2 separate regions of the Homo sapiens genome follow, and region 1 is linked to region 2. Evidence: promoter capture Hi-C in 16 types of primary human blood cells and fetal thymus (Javierre and others, 2016). All regions are on one chromosome and are shown on one strand. Each heading gives the region's core, a stretch centred on a gene start or on the middle of the fragment in contact. The rest is flanking DNA. Distances are from core to core; before and after follow the strand shown. Region 1 overlaps NANS (N-acetylneuraminate synthase). Region 2 holds the start of CORO2A (coronin 2A).

Evidence for each region. Contacts are between HindIII fragments. The CHiCAGO score rates a contact against its expected background, and 5 or more counts as called.
Region 1: a contact is called between a fragment that was not itself captured here and the fragment with the promoter of CORO2A in region 2, in 15 of 17 cell types (total CD8 T cells, non-activated CD4 T cells, naive CD4 T cells and 12 more). The highest score is 15.1, in total CD8 T cells.

Annotation. Positions count from the first base shown.
Region 1 is chr9:98,074,053-98,078,490 of GRCh38, reverse strand. It overlaps NANS (N-acetylneuraminate synthase), which reads right to left. Exons shown (of 6, transcript NM_018946.4): 3 at 1,474-1,573; 4 at 144-298. It also overlaps a transcript of TRIM14 not described here. Among named protein-coding and RNA genes, the nearest start is that of NANS, 20 kb to the right of the region's middle. RefSeq lists an enhancer at 3,052-3,858. The HindIII fragment of the contact is 4,397 bases long and covers 1-3,448 here.
Region 2 is chr9:98,190,960-98,195,326 of GRCh38, reverse strand. CORO2A (coronin 2A) reads left to right here and starts at 2,690. Exons shown (of 12, transcript NM_052820.4): 1 at 2,690-2,768. RefSeq lists silencers at 2,361-2,910, 2,981-3,030 and an enhancer at 3,183-3,837. The HindIII fragment of the contact is 3,890 bases long and covers 1,651-4,367 here.

The DNA.
Region 1 (4,438 bases), core at 1-2,500, 120 kb after region 2:
AATTTGATTTGGTAACAGCAAGACTGTCAAAGGATGTTCAAATTATAAAGTATGCCATGTTTGTTAGAATTTTGGTTATAAAAAAGACTACGCCTTCCCCATAGTAAATGGCCCAAGAAGGGAACCCCCTCCCTCCTGCTCACCGAGATGACCCGCAGGTTGACGTCCTCAGGCTGGAGCGGGTATGCGCTGGTACACTGCAAGAAGCAGAAGTTGGGGTTGAGGGGCTTCACGATCTGATAAACTTGCTTCATGGTGTCCATTGACTGCATCCCACTGGAGATCACCATTGGGCGACCTGAGTAATCCAGCACCAACACCATCAGCACTTTCTCTTTAGAGGTTCTGACTCTCCCCAACACATCCCAACTGCTGGTCTCATCATTCAACTGAACTCCACAGACATCTCTTAAAACACTGTGCCAGCCCCTGTGGGGGAACAGAGAGGAGCTTGTTGGGTTCCTGCCCTCGGCCACAGGAAAGGTGGGCTCCCCTCTGCCCCCCGACAGTGTTCTTGAGCAAAAGGAACTGAATTAAAGAGGCAGAGGAATTTCACACTGCCAAGAGGAAAATGAGTATCTTATCTGATTAATAGGTTGTATACCATGGCAGTACAGTAGAATGAGTGCTGATTCAAGAGTGTGAATGAATGTGAGGTGTGGAGCTGCCACTTCTAGCTGTGCCTGGGCAGAGTACTGTCCGTCTCTGAGTCTCAGAGGCCTCCCCTGTGAAATAAGTATCAAGCATCATAATCATGACCTGTTTCAGTCCTAGGAGTGTTATGAGGATCAAATGAAATTGTTCATGTTGTAAAACCACTTTACACGATCATGTCCCACTGCGGTCTCAAACTCAAGCAATCCTCCTACCTCAGCCTCCCGAGTAGCTGGGGCCACAGTAATGCACCACCATACCCAGCTAGGTTTTATATATACTGTCATATCCTTAATTTCTTATAAATTTTAGTTAAAAAATTTTCTAGGACAGGTGCAGTGGCTCACACCTGTAATCCCAACACTTTGGGAGGCTGAAGTAGGAGGATCACTTGAATCCAGGAGTTCAAGACCAACCTGGGCAACATAGACAGACCTTGTCTCTATTAAAAAAAAAAAAAAATTCTTAAAAAGAATTTCTAAATGTCTTATAAAAACTGTCATATTCTTAATTCATTTTCTTTCAAATTAGCTTACAAAAAATGGAAGTACAGGCTGATTGAAAAGAGGTTTCTGGCAGGGCACAGTGGCTCATGCCTGTAATCCTAGCACTTTGGGAGGTCGAGATGGGAGGATTGCTTTAGGCCAGGAGTTCAAGACCAACCTGGCCAACACAGCGAGACCCTATCTCTATTTAAAAAAATGAAAAGAGGCTAAAATTTGTCTTCATGAAATCTGCTGAAAGTGGGCCACCATGAGGGGAGTAAAAATATGAAGGTTTGGACTCCCTTCGATTTTAAGTCAAAAATTAGACACTTACCTTTTTTGGCTGTCTTTTCCAGATAAGGAAAATTATTAGTGTCTCCAGATCCAACTTTGAAAAATGGAACATTCAGTTCATGCAGGAATTCAACTGCCATCTACAAAAATCAAAGAGGGAGCTCCTTTTCACCATTGTCCAAAAACACTGTTGTTATGACAGGCAAGGAATAACATACAAGTAGAAAAACCCCTCATCTTAGGCAGTAGAGGGACGCTCAGCAACTTGAAAGCAGGCAAAGATTTGTTCTCAGTCATTTCATTCAAATGCAAACATTCATTTGCATCCACCCATCCATTAGCCCAACAAACGTTTGGTGCTGGTCTTTGCTGGCTACAGGAATCTGGAAAAGGGCTGGGCGTGGTGGCTCATGCCTGCACTTTGGGAGGCCGAGGCGGGCAGATCACCTGAGGTCAGGAGTTTGAGACTAGCCTGACCAACATGGTGAAACCCCGTCTCTACTAAAAATATAAAAATTAGCCGGGTGTGGTGGCGGGCACCTGTGATCCCAGCTACTCAGAAGGCTGAGGCAGGAGAATCACTTGAACCTGGGAGGCGGAGGTTGCAGTGAGCTGAGATCATGCCACTGCACTCCAGCCTGGGCCACAGAGCGAGACTCCATCTCAAAAAAAAAAAAGAATCTGGAAAAGAACCTTTCCCCTGGCCAGACCCTACCTGCCCCAGGGGCCCAAGGCCAAATGAACAAACATGAAACGGTCATGACCTAATCCTGACCCAGAAAACCAGGCAGTGAAAACATGAATAGCCTCAAAGGCTTTCCCTTCTACTCGGCCAAACGAGCAGGAAAAGGGGCTATTTCAATTCTTGGCGAAAGGGGGAAAATGGAGCATTTTTTTGCCCAGCCTCTACATAAGGATCCATGGCTGGCAGGGCCCATTCAACCCGAGCCCTTTCAGGCCTCAAAGCACGCTGCCTACTTAAAAGTGAACCTCAGTCACTTTTTTCAGATATAACGTCACTGCTTGAGGTTACCTATTTAGTGCTCTTCAACATCCTTCTCTAGTATTCATCAACAAGACTCAGGAAATTGGTAAATGTCAGCAAATGCTTGCTGAAGGAATCAGTGGATCACAAGTTATAAGAGTAAAATCTCAGTTTGCTGTCAAATTATAAGAACTCAAAAACTTTTTATTATCATTTCTTTCCAGCTTCAGTAAGGTGTAATTGATATACTAAAAACTGCACATAATGTAATTTGGTGAGTTGGGACTTAAGTATACACTACTGCTACCATCAGCACAAGAGTAATAAACATACACATCACCTTCAAAAGTTTTCTTGAGTCCCTTTGTTTTGTTTTGAAGTTGGAAATCAAAAGTCGAAAAAATCAATGTCTCTGAATGGTGACTCAGAAATAAGTTAGGGCTTAGTGAGTTGCTCACACTTGATCACATGGGCACAAATCTTTCCCTCTCCCAGGGAAGTTGCTGAAATGAAATGCAAACTCTGATTGGTCTAGGACCGACGGACCGACGGACCAACCAACCTACCTCCCTTCCTGTCTCCTTCCCTCCCTCCCTTCCTTCCTCCCTCCCTCCCTTTCCTCCCTTTCCTTCCTCCCTTTCCTTCCCTCCCTCTCTCCCTTTCCTTCCTCCCTCCCTCCCACCGTTTCCTTCCTTTCCTCCCTTCCTTCACCTTTCTCACTGCTCTTCCTCTGCTTTATTTTTAACTCTTCTCTTTTCCCCTTCCATCTTTTTCTTTTCTTTTGTGGTAGAGACGGGGTCTTGCTATGTTGCCCAGACTGGTCTCAAACTCCTGGGGTCAAGCAATCCTCCTGCCTCAGTCTCCCAAGTAGCTGGGACCACAAGCACGTGCCACCACATGTGGCTAATTTTTTTTTTTTTTTAATTTGCTGTGGAGATGGGGTCTTGCTATGTTGCCCGGGCTGTTCTCAAACTCCTGACCTCAAGCAGTTGTCCCACCCTGGCCTCCCACAGTGCTGGGGTTGCAAGCTTCAGCTGCCATGCCCAGTACCTTCCATACCTTTCCACCTCACTCCTTCCTGTTTGTGTCTCATAACACTGCTAACTAGCCCTAAGACAGAACTGAAAAAACATCAGTTTTAAATATATTTTTTCAATAAAATCTAATTTTCCTACCCTTCTCACTTCATTTGGCAGATGAAGAGAGTGCTTTCTGTTTAAAGAAGGAACCTTCCACTGAGTTTTCTTTTGTATAATGTTCATCTTGTGGGAGTGTGGTGTGGCCCACCAGGGCATAAACAGAAGCAGAAACCCCCCCAAGAGAGGGGCAGAGCGATCGGGGCAAGGAGGGGGGACAAGTGCAGAAAAACACCTTGTGAAAGCTTACCTACAGAGGCTGTAAAATCTGCATGGAATTCTGTAATTTTCAAGTAAAGAAAAAGGCCAATTCCTGCTGGAAAGGGAAGGGGCGCCTCATTTTGCCGCCTCCTGGGGAGCCAGCGCCACCCAGTGGACATTTAGAAAACTGCCACTCAGAGCCATCGGGCAAAGGGAATCTGAGTAATCTGGAAGATCCTAACTTTCAGCCCTAAGACAGTATCGCTGTGCCTAGGGGCTACTACAGGCTGGGTCAGCAACTGGTGACCCCTTTCTCTTCAGGGACTCCTTGACTTCCCCTAGCCTGCCGACCGTGCTATCGGGTTCCCTCTATCTGGGGTTCCATGCAGCCCGGCAGCCTCAGCACTCCTCTCTCCCTCCTGCCCCATAGCACAAAGTCTGTGGGAGTCTGAAGGGAGCTCAGGCATGTACAACTCTCCTCGGGCTCCCAGCTGAGTTCAACATGCAGAAATGGGTCCCATGGATAGCCTCGTTTGGGAGAAACACTACCCTGCCTTAATGCCTTCTTAGAGGGTCCCAGTAAATCAACTTAGCTGAGTTCCAAACCCAGTGTTTCCCAAACTTATTCGACTCAGAACTTTATTAATTCTGGCCAGGCATGGTAGCCCATGCCTGTAATCCCA
Region 2 (4,367 bases), core at 1,441-3,940:
GGGAAGGAAGAGGGAGGTTTCCTGGCCCATCCCAATCCACACTAAGGCCTAATAGAAGATGCCAGGAGATGGGCCCAACTTTGGAACCAGATCTGCTATGTGGTTTTCTAGCTAGGGGATCCTGCGTAGGTCATGCCCACTGTGGCCTCAGTTTCCCCATGTGTGCAATCCTGCATCTGGACCAGGATTAGAGGGAGGGAAGGGGCAAGAGAGGAGGACACTCCCCAGCCACAGCAACCCCAGGAAGGGTCCCAGGTTCATTGCAGAGGTCTCCCTCTGGCTTATGGGTCCATATGCCCACAGCCCCCAGAGATGTCTCTGTCAAACCAGCTGTTCCCCAAACAGTCCCAGCCACCAACCACCATGGCACAGGGTAGGAAGATGCAGGTGCAAGCCTTGGAGGGCACATCCATAGGACATCTAGGAAGGCTAGGCCTGGAAGGATGAGTGGGTTTAGACAAGGGAGATGATGATTTGGGAAGAGAACTGCAGACAGAGCAAAGGCTCAGAGATGTCAGAGTGCAAGGCGAGTGGCATTGGCAGAGGTAGAAAGCCACACCAGAGATGCTGGCCCAAGCCCTAAGTGAATTAAGACATTCAAGGCCAGGCGTGGTGGCACGCACCTGTAATCCCAGCACTTTGGGAGGCCAAGGCAGGCAGATTGCTTGAGCCCAGGAGTTGGAGACCAGCCTGAGCAACGTGGCGAAACCCTATCTCTACAAAAAATATAAAAATTGGCTGGGCATGGTGGCACGCACCTGTAGTTCTAGCCATTCGGGAGGCTGAGGTGGGAGGATTGCTTGAGCTTGTGTGGTGGAGGCTGCAGCAAGCTAGGATTGTGCCACTGCACTCCAGCCTGGGCGACAGAACAAAACCATGCAAAAACAACAACAACAAAGTTATTCAGATGCCTTAGCCTGGGAAAGATCATGGTGCCCACCGTCCAGCTGTAATTCAAGTAAAAACCAAACCATGATTATAAAGAATTCCCACAATGTTCTGATTTCATCCATATGTTTGTTTGTTTGTTTGTTTGTTTGAGACAGAGTCCCACTCTGTAGCCCAGGCTGGAGTGCAGTGATGTGATCTCGGCTCACTGCCACCTCCACCTCCTAGGTTCAAGTGATTATCCTGCCTCAGCTTCCCAAGTAGCTGGAACTATAGGCACATGCCACCACGCCCGGCTAATTTTTGTATTTTTAGTAGAGACAGGTTTTCACCATGTTGGCCAGGCTGGTCTTGAACTCTTGAGCTCAAGCAATCCACCTGCCTTGGCCTCCCAAAGTGCTGGGATTACAAGCATGAGCCACTGCGCCCAGCCATCCATATGCTTGATACCCAACTCTTGCACGCTAACACCAGAAGCATGCGTTCAGTCTACCTGCTGGGCAATCCAGCTCCAGAAGGTCTGAATCAGAGCTGTAGGATGGGGTTTTCAGGACCATAGTGCACACTGGGCTTTGGGTGGTAGGCAGGGAGCCCGTCCAGCTCTGGGCAGGGGGGTGGTACAGTGGACTATGGAAGCTGAGTCACATTCTAAGGAGAGAATCAAGAGCTCCCTAAGTACCTTGCCACTCCAAGCCTCAGTTTTCTTATCTGTAAAATGGAGGTAATAATAGTGGCTAAATAAAGCCACTATTATTAGAAGCTTAGAAGAAACGATACAGATATGTAAAGTAGTAACAGTGTACTCTGTTATCCACTCCACAACTATATATTGAGTGGTTACTATGTGCCACGGAGCAGTTCAAGGCCCTCAAGATAACCCGTCTCTACTGAACAAAACCAAGAGCTCTTCACAGACGTGGTGTGGAGTGGAGTGGCTGTTAGCTTAGTAGCCGTGGGAGCCATACTGCCTGGGGTTGCATGACTAGCCGGGTGATCTTAACCTAGGTACTTAATATCTCTGTGCCTCAGCTCTTTTGTGTTAAATAGGTGAGTAATGGTATCAACCTCATAGGCCTGTGTGACAGTGAAGCGAGGTAATGCACAGAAGGCGCTTAGAGGAGTGCGTGGCTCAGTAGTGTTAGGTGGGGGTGGTACCCAAAGGTAGGGCCTCCCCATTGTCTAGTGTCCTCAGGGCTCTCCAGCCAGCGAGGCTGGCAGCAGCGCCCCCGGCTGGTCCCGAGAGAAGGAAGGGCGTCCTCCTCGGTTCCCAGCGGCGCTCCCGGCTCCTCTCCTCCCTGCGGACGGGGAAGCCTCGGTAACCGCTGTAACTGCTCGGGGAAAGGAGCGCTTCCCTGGCCGGGCTCGGCGCGCGCACTGTACCCGGCCGGGATCGTCACATCCAGGGCTCAAACAGCCTTAAGAGGCCGACGCGGTTACTGTCTCCATTTCACAACGGGGGAAACTGAGGCTCCGGGAGGTCAGGTTCCTCATCCCACACCACGCAGCGAGGGCACGGCGCGACGTGGGGCCCGCGGCTCTGCCTGTCCCCAGCCTCCGCCTGGTGGCCGGCAGCCCGCCCCAATCACTGCGGCGTGTGCGCGCCTGTTCCCAGCACGTGTGCGCGCCCCGAGACCCGCCCCGGGGAGCCAGGAGCGCGGTCGGGGTCGTGGGGGCGGAAAAGGGTGGCCAGGGCGGACCCGCGGGGCGGGCAAAAGGGCGGACCTTGGGCCAGGCCCCCGCCCCGCCCTCCGGCCCCGCCCGCCGGGCTGCAGGGGGAGGCGGCGGCGGCTCTGGGCGCCGGGAGTCGGCGGGCGGCGAGGAGCGCGGAGCCGGAGCTGGACGCCGCCGCCGCCACCGCCACCTGCGCGGCAGTCATCAAGGTAGGGCGGCCCTGCGCCGCCGGCCGTGCCTTCCCGGTCTGCGCGATGGGGGCGTCGGGCGGGACGTGCGCGCTGCGGCTGCAGCTCCCGGAGAGGGAGGGATGCGGGGCTCGGAGCGCGGGGGACCTGGCTTTCAGCCCCTTTGCGTGACCTTGCACAAAGCACTGCTCCTCTCCAGGCCTCAGTTTCCCCGTCAGGATAGCTTGCTCATTGGTGGCCCCCTTCTCGCGGGGTTGTTGGGAGGGGCCGCCTCGAGGTCCGGGCTCCCGACGGCTCGCTGCCCTCATGAGCACTGTCTGCACCGCCCACCCCTCCTGCCCGCGGTGAGGGAAGCTCACTCTGGGCGCGGCCAGCCGGTCCCGACAGGCCCCTGCTGTGGCCCGGGTGCTCCATGGGACTCTTGTCGGGACCCTCCCCCTCTTGGCTGCGTTACCTGCTGGGCCTCAGCTTCCTGGTACAGGAAACGGTGGGGTGGGGGGCATCCCCGGGTCCCCGCCAAGCCGGCCTGGGCGTGCATGTGGGGCATCAGCCGGCCCGCCAAGAGGGTTTACTCGTCTGGGGCTGGAGGAGCCCTAGGTTGGAGGTGGCTGGACTCCTGGCGGCACGACTGCCTGGACCAGCCCCACGTAGGCACCTCGATTTAGAGAGTGGTATAGGATAGCTCCTTCCCCTTCCCCACCCGGGCCAGGTGCTGGTGCCTAGCTCTGTGTCCCAGAGCTAGTGTGTGATAAGGTGTGACACACACTAGCTGGTGTGACAAGGGGTGACTGGCGGCCACGCCTGGACCTCAGAGGGGTGACAGTGCCAAGGTGCTGTGTCCGCGTGGCATTAAGGGATGGGGCAGAGCACAGGTCTGAGGGACTGTGGTCCCAGGCTCCCTAGGTAAAGAAGACCTATGGCATCTGGCCCAGCCCCTCTGTAAGATCCCCTCTGGAAGGTCTTGCTGCCCCCTTGCACACTCCTTGTGATAGGAATCTCACTAGTTGTAAACCAAGCTGGAATCTGCTACCCAGTCACTGCCTCTCCTGCTGGTCCTGCTCTGGACACACAAACAACCTCTGACCCTTCCTCCCTCACCCTGGGGCAGTGGTCAGGTCCCTTAAATATGCTCATCTCCAGACCCAGCAGCCCCAGGCCCAGCAGTTTCTCCCATCAGATCCCAGGGAGCCAAGGCAAGAAGAGGGAGCCGAGGTGTCTGCCCTGGAGCAGGCTGTGGGGCCTCCGCTTTCCTGGGGCTTGTTCAGAACCCACCTGTGCATCAGGACTGGAATGTGTCTCCCCAGCTTCCTGCCCCTCCTGGGGACCGTCTGAGAGGTCCGGAGTGAGGAGAGCCGGAGCCCCTCTGCAGGCCTTTCCTGCCCCATGGGGCCTCTTCTCCACCTCCCTGATGCCTGCCCTGTTTGAGGGAGCAGTTTCTAGGAATCACTTCTCAGCCTCCTGGTCTTTCTTGTCCCCTTCATGACCTGCCCTGCACCCAGGGATTTTCTTAACAGCCAAAAGAGGGCAGGAGGCCCCTGGACAGGTAGTGAGCTCTTTGTCATCACAGGTATTCAAGCAGAACCTGGGGGTGAGCTACCTTGGACTGAAAGTCTATGGAAT